Regions from separate parts of the Homo sapiens genome. Here region 2 is linked to region 1. Evidence: promoter capture Hi-C in 16 types of primary human blood cells and fetal thymus (Javierre and others, 2016). All regions are on one chromosome and are shown on one strand. Each heading gives the region's core, a stretch centred on a gene start or on the middle of the fragment in contact. The rest is flanking DNA. Distances are from core to core; before and after follow the strand shown.

The links. Contacts are between HindIII fragments. The CHiCAGO score rates a contact against its expected background, and 5 or more counts as called.
Region 2: a contact is called between a fragment that was not itself captured here and the fragment with the promoter of DUSP18 in region 1, in 1 of 17 cell types (endothelial precursors). The highest score is 8.0, in endothelial precursors.

The regions. Positions count from the first base shown.
Region 1 is chr22:30,664,389-30,671,572 of GRCh38, forward strand. DUSP18 (dual specificity phosphatase 18) reads right to left here and starts at 3,487. Exons shown (of 2, transcript NM_152511.5): 1 at 3,074-3,487. It also overlaps a transcript of SLC35E4 not described here. RefSeq lists an enhancer at 3,585-3,974. The HindIII fragment of the contact is 6,661 bases long and covers 412-7,072 here.
Region 2 is chr22:30,903,961-30,910,927 of GRCh38, forward strand. All of the region lies in intron 2 of LOC107985544 (a long non-coding RNA gene), which reads right to left. OSBP2 (oxysterol binding protein 2) reads left to right here. Exons shown (of 14, transcript NM_030758.4): 13 at 1,877-2,109; 14 at 2,237-3,853. The coding sequence ends at 2,379. Among named protein-coding and RNA genes, the nearest start is that of MORC2-AS1, 15 kb to the right of the region's middle. The HindIII fragment of the contact is 788 bases long and covers 5,262-6,049 here.

The DNA.
Region 1 (7,184 bases), core at 2,237-4,736:
TCCCACAGCTCTAGTTGGGCAGATGACTTGTGTCCCTCAGCTGTGCCTTGGCCTGATTCTCCATTTAAGCTCACAGAGCCCTTTTCTTGCTGCTCTTCCAAATTCTCTCCTTCCTTCCAGCCCCTCTGAGTGGGAACCATTTGTACAGTCTTCCTCCTCAGTCTTCTGACTTTATGCCCAAATCATAAGGTCCTGAGCCAGTGGCATGGAACCAGAGCCCACTGTGCTGGCAGTCACTGAGGAGGCTGGTATAAGAGTAGGGAGGGTTCCCATTTTCCCCCTCTAAGAACCATCTCTTTAAAGAGACAGGATATGCCCATGCGAAGCTGATGTCAAATACAAAGTCCTAAATTGTTAGACATGCTCCTGCACCTTGCCTCTGAAGAAGGCCTGGGAAAGGGAGTGGCTGAAAGCTTCCTGGAAGCCAGCATAATGGGCACCACAGCAACCCCAGGGACAAGCACAGAGACAGCAGGGCCTTAGGAAGACCTGCCACACCTGCATCATGCTGCCTGCAGCAGAGCTGTGAAACACACCCCAGGGAGAGGCAGACCCCTTCCCTTCACCTGCTCGATAGGCTCAGTCGCCGCTAAGTAATTGGGGTAGAGGTTCAGCCGCAGATCTGCTTCCCGCGCCGCAGACCGTGCAGTCGTCGGTGCTCCTCAGGTGCGGCCTGGGTGCCCAGAGCATTCATTAGACTCTCGGACCCTCACTTTCTCAGTCTTAAACAAAGCTGCAAAAACCAGGACATCTTTATACATTCCGCTGAAATAGGGACATTTGGATTTAGATCACACCTTTCAAGGCCAAGTGGCAGTCTTCACCAGGCACGAGAAATGAGGAGCCAAAGTTTTGTTTCCCTGCTTAATATATTTCAGTGGCTATCCACTGTGAGGATAAGATGGAGCCACTTAGTTTGGCTGTCAAGGCCATTTGTGACCTGGCTCCTGCCTGTCTCTCCAGCCTCTTATTAGGCTTCTCCATGCTCTGAAGGGCCTCAGGTGAACCGAGCCACTTACAGTTCCTTAGGGACAACCTGTCCTCTCCAGCCAGTGGCCTTTGCCCCTGCTGATCTCTCAGTCTCTTTCCTTATGAACCCATCAGATCCTGATCTGGTCCATTCAGCAGAGGACTGCAGAAGTCTGAGGAGCCTTAAGATATCAACTTAAAGGTAACTGTTTTAAGGGAAATCTCCTTAGATCACACCCCTCCCTCACGTTTGACCAACTCTGCTCCAGGCTTTCTTAGCCCTATGTTCTCTCCTTCCTAACACTTACTGAAGACGTAGTTTTGCTCCGATCTGTCTGATTATTTGATTAATGTCTGTCTCCCCAAGAGACTGTGAGCCCTTTAGGGATATGATGGTGTCTGTCTTCACTCCCACTCTATCACCAACTAGTGCCAAGCGCTGTGTCCCCACAAGTAGGTGCTTGATAAATATTTGTTGAATGAAGAAATGACTCCCAACAGCTATGACTCTGCCTTCTGAGAGGTTTTCTGGAAAGAATGAGTTCTCTGGCAGCGTGTCTCCAGAATTCCAGGGAGGGGCTGGGTGGGGATGGGGGTGGTTCTGAGGCTACTAAAGAGAAAGACCAAAGGTTGTATAGGCAAATCCTACCTGCCAATGCCCCAGACTCAAATGCATCAGGCTCATTCCCGGAAGGACAGAGAGGGCTGGCTTGCTACAGAGGTGATATGAAGGGCAAAGAAAAAGCCTCCTGAACCCAGATGGAAGTCTAAATGCTAAGGAATGTTCTGGATCCTCGTCATCAGAAAATCCATAGAGAAGTGAACTGATGTCCCCCCAAACCAGTGCCCAGTGGGTAACGGGAATAGAGGAATGTGCTGTTCATTATAGCCACTAAAAGTCTGCAGAAGTGACAATGCTCTTGCAGGTGAGGGTAGTGATGCGAGGAGTCATTTTCATGCTAGTTAAGAAATATCTATCAGGGCTGGGCACGGTGGCTTAAGCCTATAATCCCAGCACTTTGGAAGGCCGAGGCGGGCAGATCACCTGAGGTCAGGAGTTCAAGACCAGCCTGACCAACATGGTGAAACCCCCGTCTCTACTAAAAATACAAAAATTAGCCAGGCGTGGTGGCATGGGCCTGTAGTCCCAGCTACTCAGGAGGCTGAGACGGGAGAATTGCTTGAACCCGGGAGGCGGAGGCTGCAGTGAGCCAAGATCGTGCCACTGCACTCCAGCCTGGGAGACAGCGTGAGACTCCATCTCAAAAAAAAAAAAAAAAAAAAAAAAAGCAATCTCTATCAGGCACTGTATTAGGTGTTGGAGATACTGAAATGTACAAGACAGGCATGGCCCCTTTTCTCAGGGAGCTCAAAGACTAGTGGGAGAAACAGATAGTAAACAGGCAATTACAGGCAGACAGAGCTTGAAAATAGGATAACAGTACCTACCTTAAAAGGATGTTGTGAAATTAAACGAGATAATCCACGTAAAGAGTTTTCTCAGGGCTTGGCATAGAGTAAGCCCTCTCAAAATGATAACTATTTTTCTCGCTTCTGATAGGGAAGTTAAAATGCAGGGCTCTGTGAAAGGGAAGTGTAAAAAAGATTTCTTCCAGGTCGGAGCCTAGGGAGTCGCAAAGACCACCTGAAGAAATCACAAAAGATCTAAAGAACGTTTAGCTTGAGAGGGAGGAGGAGAAAAAAATAGCAACTCGGTAGCAGTTCAGCTTCACCACTTTACAGCCTATGAAGTATTTGGCTTCCCTCATCTGGTTCGATCTTCAAAGCAACCTAATCAGACCGGCGTCTAGAGTTAATATTTCCATTTTACAAAAGAGGAAAGTGAGACACAGCGCGGAAAAGGACTTGTTCAGAACGAGTCATAAAGCAAAGAAGCCGACCTTTATGGTCCATTATGTGTGGGAAAAATGAACAAACACCGCGGGGCGTTCGTGAAATACTAAGTTATAAACATGGAACAAAGTCCAAGAGTTAACGAGAGCGAAGCATCACTTCTAGGGGTGGGCCGGGTAGGTTTCCTAGGGGAGCTGGCATTGGAATAGGCTTCTTCGCCTGCTTAGTGTCAGGACCCCCAGGGTTTTACCTCTCTCCTTCAGGCGGGTGGGCGGGTTCGCTCAGGAAGTAGCCGCTTGGGGAAGCCTTAGGCAAGGTTCTTCGGGAGAGAGACCCGTCATGATCCCGCAGCCTCAATCCCCGCTGGCCTAACGCTTTGGTTTCCATAGCAATGGGCTCGTCGCAGAAAGGAATAGCCTGTGCCGGGTCTTCAGAGAAATCCTGGCCTCGGCTCCACGCCCCTGAGCAGCCCCACCCTGGCTCAACCTGTTACCCGCCCTGCCGGCAAGCCGGGGTCACTGCAGTCCCCGTGGCGAAGCAGGGTCAGCTCAGCTCACCGCACCCCACTCCATCCAGCCCTGCCCATCTCTACGGCAACGGGCCGGGTCGCACCAGGGCTGCAGCCGAGAGACAGTCTCACCGCTTCCGTAGCCGCCCGGGCTCTGTGCGCATGTGCGACACTCCCTCCCCGGCCCCGCCCCCTTATGCGTCTCCCAGGCAACGCGCCGCGCGGGGCTCCAGGTTCCGCCCAGGGACTAACTCCAGGTCTGCGCGCGTCCAACGAGCACGGCTCTCAACCGGCCTCCTGGCGCCCAACGACCATGGCTTCCAACCGGCCTCCGTGCGCCCAACGACCATGACTCCCAACCGGCCTCCAGTTTCCAACTGTTTCTCGAACAGGGAAGCCGCCATGACACAGCTGACTACGCCCTTGGTCACAGGGGACCTGAGATCCTCCACGATTTACGGGACCGGCGCCACCTCGGGCTCGAACCACCCTCTCGATAGGGCCGCCGCTAAGTAATCGGCGTAGGGGTTCAGCCGCACATCTCCTTCCCGCGCCGCGGACCGAGCAGTCGTTGGTGCTCTTCAGGTGCGGCCTGGGTGCCCAGAGCCTTCGTTAGACTCTCGGACCCGCAAGGGAGCCCGAACTCTTTCAGACTCGCTCTCCCTCAGCCGGACCTCGGCCCTTTTTCACACCCCAGGGGAGTCTGGATTTCTCATAGTCCTGGGCACCAGCCCCTTCCCAGTCTAGCTCTTGGGACTCCCTGAAGCCGGAACTCCCTCGCCTGGACTCCCGGGAGAACCTGGAATCCCCATCTCCAGTCCACATTTTCTCAGAATCTGTCCTAGCCCTTCAGTCTCCCAGGCATGACATCGTGTGGTCCCAGCGCCCTAGGTGGTGAGCTGTGACTCTCCTTAGAGCCTGGCGAGGCCGAGGTCCTCCCCAGCTCGAACCCATCCCACACTCCCCTTCTCAGCCTCTGTGTTCCCCAGTGGTCCTGGAAAAGCCCCCAGTTCCCTCTGCCTGGCCCCAATCCTCACAAACCCAATTACCCACGCTCCTTTCCATTCCATAACCCCCATCACTGCATCCTCCAGGCTCCCATCCATGGAGGACTTGAGGTGGAAAGCAATTTGGTTCAAAATAACCATTATTTATTACTTGAAAGGGAATATTTCCAGTCGTTGCCAGCCTCCTCCCCTTCTAGTATTGGTAAATTTTTTGCACCACTGAGTGGGTGAAGAGTTTTATGCGTCTTTAAATGTTTTAAGGATTTTTTTAAAAAAACAAAAAACTCTCAGGATTTGGGGGACTTTTGTGTTTGAGCATCTTGATCTCTAAACCAGCTTTTTCCATCACCTCACACCTAGGCTATGCATAGAGGTCAGAAAAATGTAAATGAGAGATTGAGAAGTTGGATTGTTCATACTAGTTTGTAAATATGAAAACATTCACAACACTCCAGTTCCAAATAGGCTGAAAATGCATTAGAAAAACTAGTCCTTCAATATTTTTTATCCTTCTACAGTTGTCTTTTTTGACCCAATTATAAAAGTAGTGTACACTTATAGAAAAATGAGGACAGGCATGGTGGCTCACGCTTGTATTCCCACCACTTCACTTTGAAACGCTGAGGCAGTTGGATCACCTGAGCTCAGGAGTTCGAGACCAGCCTGGGCAACAGGGTGAAACCCCATCTCTACCAAAAATACAAAAAATTAGCCGGGCTTGGTGGCTCACCTGTGGTCCCAGTTACTCAGGAGGCTGAGGTGGGAGGATCACTTGAGCCTGGGATGTGGAGGTTGCAGTGAGCTGAGATTGTGCCACTACTCTCCAACCTGGGGGACAGAGTGAGACCCCGTCTCGAAGAAATAAAAAGAAGACAAGACAGGCCAGCAGCATAAGTGGCTAGGGACAATCACTGTTAACATTTTGGTGTATTTTGATCAGAATCCATTCATATATATATATATATATATATATATATATGTTACAACATGCTTATACTTAAAAAAGATACATCACAAAAGTTCACTTTTTAGTAACCTGCTTTTTTCTCCCATCTAATATACCACCCGTCTATGTTTCATACACAATTACATGTATTTTATTTTATGACATACCAAAATTTATTCAATTGCTTCCATACTGTAGATTTTGTTTCCGCATTTTAGAAAGAAAATATGAACAATTTTTTTTTTGAGACAGAGTCTAGCTCTGTGGCCCAGGCCCGAGTGCAGTGGCACAGTCTTGGCTCACTGCAACCTCTGCCTCCTGGGTTCCAGTGATTCTCCTGCCTTAGCCTCCTGATTAGCTGGGATTACAGGTGCTCACCACTACACCCGGCTAATTTTTGTATTTTTAGTAGAGATGGGGTTTCACCATGTTGGCCAGGCTGGTCTCGAACTCCTGACCTCAAGTGATCTGCCCACCTTGGCCTCCCAAAGTGCTGGGATTATAGGCCTCAGCCACTGTGCCTGATCCTGAAGAATTATTTTTAAATGGGCAAAACCATTTAAAGGTATTTATTTGTAAGACTACTTCATGGTGTAACCAAATTATCAAAAAGTGAAAATGCAGTGCTTAGAAGTATATCCACTCTTCAGCATTTCCTCATTTTGACCAGATTGTTATATTTTCACCTGGAGTACCTAGCTCCATTCTACCCCACCCCACCCCATGTTTCACCTCACCTTTCAGAGTCTCCTAAAACCCCTGTCCACCCCACACCTCCCTATTCTAAATTTTCCCCAAACCTTCTTCTGGAATTCCCCTATTAACCAGCCTAACATCTGTCCAAACTCTTACTTTTATTTCTCCCTGCTCTGATCTATACTCCCCCAAGCCCCCGCCTCCCAGATCCCCTTTAGGCACAGGGTCTAGAGCAAGTGCTCCCCAAGCTAAACACCTCTCAAATTCATCCTTCGAACCCTACTCTACAACTTTTACTCCTCCCCTCTAAGACCCCTCTCTCCCATTTCATCCTTAAGAAGGATCATCAAGATGACTGCTTTTGGCTGGGTGGGCATGGTGGCTCTCACGCATGTAATCCTACCACTTTGGGAGCCCAAGGCAGGCATATCTCTTGAGGTCAGGAGTTCGAGACTAGCCTGGCCAACATGGTGAAACCCCGTCTCTACTAAAAATACAAAAATTAGCCAGGTGTGGTGGCGCATGCCTGTAATCCTAGCTGCTCGGGAGGCTGAGGCAGGAGAATCGCTTGAACCCGGGAGGTGGAGGTTGCAGTGAGCCGAGATTGTGCCACTGCATTCCAGCCTGGGAGACAGAATGAAACTCCATCTCAAAAAAACAAAAGACTGCTTTGGAAGATGGTTCTGAGTTCCTGATAACCCTTCTCTTGTGGACTGCACTGGGGCCCTTTTACAAACACAGAATTGCTTTTCTTCTGGGTGTCCATGAAACACCCCTTTAGCATATCTTTCCACAAGAAGAAACTGTGGTTACTCCCTTGCTTCTCTGAAAATTGTAACAGAGCTGCACTTGTCCTAAGATACCCGGGGAAGCCTCAGCCACTCCCCCAGGACCCTGTCAAATCTGCTCTGGCCCTGGCCTCAGCCATCTGTAACCTGTGTCACCTTTCCCTCCCCGCTCCAGCTTAATGATTCCAGTGAAGCAGCAGTGAAAAATTTTTTACTCATATAAAAAGAGCAGTTTATCTTGGGTGGGTTTTTATGACAAGCTCATAGCACAACGACTCCATGAGGTGCAGGTAAAGTAGCCACAAGCTTTTGCATTAGAGGGTGTTAGTGGCTTGACCCATATTCATTTCATTCTCTCTATATCCTGGGGGATCATAAAGGTGATAGGAAGTCCCCAAGGTGCTCTAAGGCAGGCC
Region 2 (6,967 bases), core at 4,406-6,905, 240 kb after region 1:
GGCTGCATCTTGGGGACACACTTGGTTGTTCCCATGTGCAGGGTTCAGCACTTACCTGGGAGTGGTAGTGGTTAGGCTTTTGAGCTTGAACGCCCGCGTGTGAACAGATGAAAAATCCTTCAGTACCCAAATCCCAGTCTTCCCTTTGGGGAGCAGTTGGGGGGTGGCTGGCAGCAAGGGCCTAGGAAAGAGACCCTTGCAGGGTGATGGCAGGGCAGCCTGGGGCGCCCAGTGTAGTGTGCTTAGTAATTGGTCACCAGCTGTCATCCTTGGCTTCTCCTACTGTATCTTTGTTACAAGCCCTCCGCAATCCACAGAACTCTCTCTCCTTCCTTCCACCTGTCAGCTTCTCTGCTTCTGAGATAAGAACCATTTCTGTAACACCAATACTTAAGAAAGACATGCATTATGTGGTGTAATCAAACCTGATGCTTTCAGATCATCTACTTACATCTTCAACATGGATAAGATAAACAAAACAAATGCATCTAAACTTCTGGGCAATCCAGTTGATTTTTAAATGTAAGAATGGAATTCCAAACACAACACATTCAGCTATATGACAGAAAGTAAATCTATGGATATGGTATTTTTTGAAGGATCTTTTCAACAAAAGAAATGCTTACATAATTAAAATATATATATATATATACACACATTAGGAAAGATGGACTAACTACAACCCAAGTAGAGAAAGTATGAACAAGGCCTGCTGGACAGTTATACAACCTTGCACTCAACAACTGTTCTCTTCAATCACATGGAACGTGTGCAAAAACTGCCCATATACTGGGCCATAAAGCAAATTTCAAAGGACTGAAATTATGCCAAGTATATTGTCTGACTCCAAGGCAATTATACTAGAAAAAAATGACTAGAAAAATCCCCATATGGGCTGGGCACAGTAGCTGATGCCTGTAATCCCAACACTCTGGAAGGCCAAGATAGGCAGACCAATTGAGGTCAGGGGTTCAATACCAGCCTGGCCAACATGACAAAACCCCATCTCTACTAAAAATACAATAAAATTAGCTGGGTGTGGGGGCATGCCCTGAAATCCCAGCTACTCAGGAGGCTAAGGCAGGAGAGTTGCTTGAACCCAGGAGGCGGAGGTTGCAGTGAGCGAAGCATCAGGCCACTTCACTCCAGCCTGGGCCACAGAGCGAGACCCGTCTTTTTTTTTTTTTTTTTTTTTTTTTTTTTTAGACGGAGCCTCGAACTGTCGCCCAGGCTGGAGTGCAATGGTGTGATCTCGGCTCACCACAACCTCGGCCTCCTGGGGTTCAAGCAATTCTCCCACCTCAGCCTCCTGAGTAGATTACCTGGGATTACAGGTGCCTGCCACCATGCCCAGCTAATTTTTAGTAGAAACGGGCTTTCACTATGTTGGCCAGGCTGGTCTCGAACTCCTGACCTCGTGATCCACCGGCCTCAGCCTCCCAAAGCGCTGGGATTACAGGCGTGAGCCACCGTGCCCAGCGGAGACCCTGTCTTAAAAAAGCCAGGCACTCCAGCCTGGGCAACAAGAGTGAAACTGTCTCAAAAAAGAAGAAGAAAAAAAAACATAATAGAAAAGAAGAAAAGCCAAGAAATATTAAGCTAGGCAATTCCCAGATAAGTCTAATGTGGCAAAACAGCGGCAGGTTGGCCATGTGAGCATGGGAGGTGTGGGGAGCAGAAGGCAGCTGTTTGCAGCCACTGGGTTCCGCCGGGTGGGCTCACTGGGGTGGGCCCAAGGCCAGAGGGAGTCCTGGACGCGGGGAGCTGGAGGGTGAGGCGACCCGGGAGGAGACACCGCCAGGCAGGGGAGGGCGGCCGGGTAGGTGTGGTCCGGCTCACACCGCAGCCACCGCCACCGCCACCACCACCGCCACAGGGAGAACGCGGAGAACATGTACTACTTCTCAGAGCTGGCCCTGACCCTCAACGAGCACGAGGAGGGCGTAGCGCCAACCGACAGCCGCCTGCGGCCCGACCAGCGGCTGATGGAGAAGGGCCGTTGGGACGAGGCCAATACCGAGAAGCAGCGGCTGGAGGAGAAGCAGCGCCTGTCGCGGCGCCGGCGGCTGGAGGCCTGCGGGCCGGGCAGCAGCTGCAGCTCGGAGGAAGGTGAGGCCGGGCGGGAAGGGCGCCCCGGAGGGGAGGAAAGGGGTGCCCGGGTGGGGGTGCCGCAGGGACGGATTCCGGGGGAGCAGGCCACAAGCCCACCCACCAGCCCACTGTGCCTGCCCAGCAGAGAAGGAGGCGGATGCCTACACGCCACTGTGGTTTGAGAAGAGGCTGGATCCGCTGACCGGGGAGATGGCCTGTGTGTACAAGGGCGGCTACTGGGAGGCCAAGGAGAAGCAAGACTGGCATATGTGCCCCAACATCTTCTGAGCGCCACCCTTGCAACAAATACAGGCGCCTGCACAGCCTGGCCCACCTGTTCATTAATGCACTCAATTTAGTACTGAATGGTCTTTCTCCCAGCCCATTCCCAGCCCTTCCTATTTCCTTTCCTATTTTTTTTTTCTCCCCACACTTTCTTGGGACTCCCACCTTGGAAGGAGGAAGGGCTGACCTGGGTTCTCTCCAGCCCCCAGGTGCGCCGGGTCACCCGTGCCCCTTCATTATGGACCTGGGCCCTACCGGAACCCCTGCCCCAGTTACCACAACTCAGGCCGGCTGGCCCGGGCCATGGGCTGCGCAAATCACCAGCCCCCAACCCAGGGAGGAACTGGCCCCTCCTAGGGAGCCTCTTCGACTTTTTTAGAAAAATGATCTCCATTTCTTTCCAGCCATGATGTTTAGTAAATATTTTTAGTACCGCACTTAGCAGACAGCTTTCCAAGTGTGCTTTCTTGCCACAAAAGTGTCCTGGCAAGAGCCCCTTATTTTTAAGACATCAGGAAGCCAGACCGCTTTGAGTTGGGAGAATTTTGTAGCTCAACATATCAAGTCCTCGATGGTATCTGAGCTGCCCACACCCCCACCTGCCAAGGCCCCACAGAGCCCAAAACAGAAGGGGGCTGCCCCAGCCCAGCAGAGCACAGAGTTTCTGGAGCTCCCATCCACAGATGCAGGAGGGGGTACTGATGGTAACCCCCATGTGGATTTGAGGGCAGCAGTCCCTGGCCTCACCCTAGCCAGCCTGGGTGGCTCCCTAGCCCCAAGAGGCCAGGAAGGGCTGGAAGGCAGGGCCTGCAGGTGCTCCCCGCCCTGAGACCCAGGCCCCAAATCAGCAATAATGAACAAACCCTTGGCCCAGCCTGGGCTGGTGACCTGGGCACCAGAGACCTTGCATCCCTCCTCATCCTAGGAGGCCCCTAGGGGTGCCCCATCTCAGTGTCCCCTGAACTCTTTATTTGCCTAATTTATATATATATATATGAGATATATAAATATATATAAAATAGCTATTTTGCTTAAATTTCTACAGTATGTAAAAGTGAAAAAATGATGAAGACGGGTGCACCTGTCTGAGTTTGGCCCTCATGTGAGCTGTGCCCTTCCCTCTCCTCATGCCCCCTTCCAGCGGCTTCTGCCAACCATGGGGGGCTGGACCACCATGGCCACTGACCCAGCCCCTCAGAATCCCACACTCCAATCCTTTCCATTTCAGTTTAGTCCTAAAAGTTCATCACAGGGTCTTTCTTTCTACTCCAGGACTGGTTTTGTTTTTATATATATAAAAAAAAAAAGTGAAAACACCAATGTGTGAAATGCCTTACAATGCCCACTGGAGAGGCGGGGCGGGGTGGGGCAGGATGGCCCCACTGGGGCTCCTACAGAGCTGTGGAATGTACCTCTCCCCAACACTGTTTTGTTAGCGAGCACCTTTTGACCAGTAATAAAAAACCTTGGCTTTGGAGTTTTCCACTGCCCTGTCCCTCAGTCTCTGTGTATCTGGGTGGAGGGGACTAATGTAGAAGGACAGGTGATAGCCTACAAGGTGGCATGGGGGTAGAGCATGGGGTGAAACAGCAGGGGGGTCAGGGGAACAGAGGAGGTAGGAGACCCAGGAAACTGCCCAAAGGGCTGGGGAGAGGGTCGCAGCTCTGCCAAAGGCTGCCCTGATGCTGCGGCCACAGGGCTGGCCTGGACCTAGCTCTGCTCTTTGGAAGGGCAGTGCTTTAGCCAGGTGGAGACCACCAGCAGCCCCCTCCCGTGTTTCAGTTCCTGGAGCTGTCTAGTGGGAGGCCTCCAGGGGGAAGGCCAGTCCTGGTGAGTTCCATATCACTTGACAGCAGCAGCCTGGGCTGCACTTCCAGGTGAGGGATGGGTAGAGCAGGGCACCCCAGGGGCATCAGGGCCAGCGCTCTCACCATCTGCCTCCAACCCCAGCCCTGTGGGATCTGGGGCTGGCCCTGCACAGCTCCTTCCCTGGCTAGGCTTCCCCATCTGTGGGGAGGTGGCCGCTGGCGGGGGGTCCCGGCTGAGGAGCTGGTGGGGCAGGTCTCACTGGAATAGAGGTGAGGCGGAACTTCAGGATGCACCTGACCCAGAGGGCAAGGGAGGGGACAAAGGCCAGTCTACTGAGGCAAAGAGAGGGCTCTGAAGAGCTTGAACAGAAATTGACATCAGGGCAATGTTTTAGAAAGACCACTCTGACCAGCAGGACACAAGATCAACCTACACTCAGTGGTCTCACATACACCAGCCATCACTGAATAGAAAATGTAATAGAAAAAAAGATCTACGACATAGGCCATCTGACAAAAAGACACAAAACCACAAGGTGAAAGACCTTTATGGACATGACAGAGAGGACCTGAGTTAAGAGGGAAAATACATCTTCATAGCTAGGTTCACATTCAGTTATGTTAGTCCCAAACCTACAAATTCAACATGATCCCTATTAAAATCCTACCAATATAGTTCAAAAGCTTGACAAGTTGATTGTGACATTTATATGAGAGAATAATTAAAAAAAAAAAAAATAGGGCCAGGTGCAGTGGCTCACGCCTGTTATCCCAGCACTTTAGGAGGCCAAGGCGGACAGATCACTTGAGGCCAGGAGTTTGAGACCAGCCTGGCCAACATGGCAAAACCCCGTCTCTACTAAGAATACAAAAATTAGCAGGGTATGGTGGCGCACACCTGTAATCCCAGCTAGTTGGGAGGCTGAGGCAGAGAATCGCTTGAACCTGGGAGGCGGAGGCTGCAGTGAGTGGAGATCGCACCACTGCACTCCAGCAAGAACTCAGGGGACGATGAGGGGACTATGTGGACTTGACCTGCAGATGCCCAAACAAGCTGGAAGCCTCCTGGGGACACAAAGCTTCCTTTTTCTCCACTGCTCTCTGATCACCATCTGGCTGCCATGCAGTGTATTTGTTGATGGTCTGCCCTCCCTACCCCAATGGACTGAGCTTCATGAGACTGTGAGCTTCATGATCTTATACGTTGTAGCATCCCACTGCCTGGCACATAGTCAGTGCTCAATGAATAGCTGTCGAAAGAATCAACACCAGGCCAGGAAGACCAGCTAAAGCAAACGCTCAGTGGGACAACACCTGAGCAGTGGGGGGCGTGACTGCAGTACCAAGTTGGGAGGAGACTCAGAAATGGAACTGGTGAAGAGCTGAGCCCAGGGACCCAGGAAACTCCTGCCTCCCCCAAACTCTAGAGTTCAAATTGCTGCTCCTGACAGACTGTGGGGTAGGAGTCAGATTCTGTAAGTGGGGAAGAGAAGGCCTGAGGTTCTCTCATCTCCAGGGACATGGCTCAGCATGAAGGGAGTTGGGAGGAGAGGACAACGGAGAGACACATTTCAAAGTGGAACAGAGAACAGGACAAGAGACAAACTCAATGCTATTTAAGTTATTGTTTTTATGAAGCTAGCCAGCATGCATAACTTCAGCAACAAAGCCTAATAAAGACAGTGTGAAAATAAAGGGAATATATAGTTCGGTCTCATGGAAGAAAAGAATTTTCATAAATCCAAACAAGAGAACAGCAAATAGAATCTAGCCACATAGAAAAGACTGAACCCCAAGTTGGTAAGCCCATGCCCAAATTAGGTTTACTGCAGAAATGCAAGAATGAAAATGGCTCAATGTTGTGAAGCTTTCCATGGTAAATCATTCATTACATCAGCCAGTCGAAGGATTTCTTCTTCTGGCAATATGGTAAACTAGGTTCCCAGAAAATACTCCTTTGTGGAAAACTAGACAGGTTGGATAAAATTTTTTAAATGTTAAATGCATCTATCAACTGGAAACAATATGAGGAATACTCAAGCCAAAAACTAAGTGGGTATGAAAACCTGGAGAGGTAAGAAAAGGTCTGAAATATTTTATGTTGCAATTATTTACAAAGCCCAATGAGCTTAACTGTAAGTTTTCACTGCCTCAAAAGAGCCTCCAAAGGTAGGGCATATAATAGGAAATTTGGGGCCCCCAAGGGCTATACCTTCAATGTAATGGTGAATCCAAAATAAAATACAAGAAAAATCACTTGTCTTAAAGGTTGGTCCTGAGCAGAGAAAAACAAAATCCCCCTAAGAATTTGTAATCAGGAGTGGACCCTCAGTTAGTTTTGCAGCCCAAATACACACTACCTGAATGGCTCAATGAAACCTCTGACAGAGAACGTAACATGGTCCGAAGTTGGCAATGTTCCCAGTCACCTGGGGGAAGCAAACAAGTCCTCTCTGGAAGATATCCCCTTCATTCTAGGCCTTAGAGAACCTCAGATATGAAACTGCAGGGAAAATGAGCAGCTCACAGTATAAAATCTCCAAACACACAAGGAAACAAGCACCCATGAGCAAGGGCAACCAGAAATAACAGATAGCAGAATCAGACAGAAAACTCTTCCACACAGCAAAATTATCAGATACAGAAGAGAAAATAAGCATGTTTAATATATTTCTAGAAACAGAAAGGCAGCTTGAAAATAAGTGAAGAGTAAATATTCAAAAATACTAAACAAATTTCAAGAAAATGTTTTAAAATCACTAAAAATAATTCAGTGAATAGTT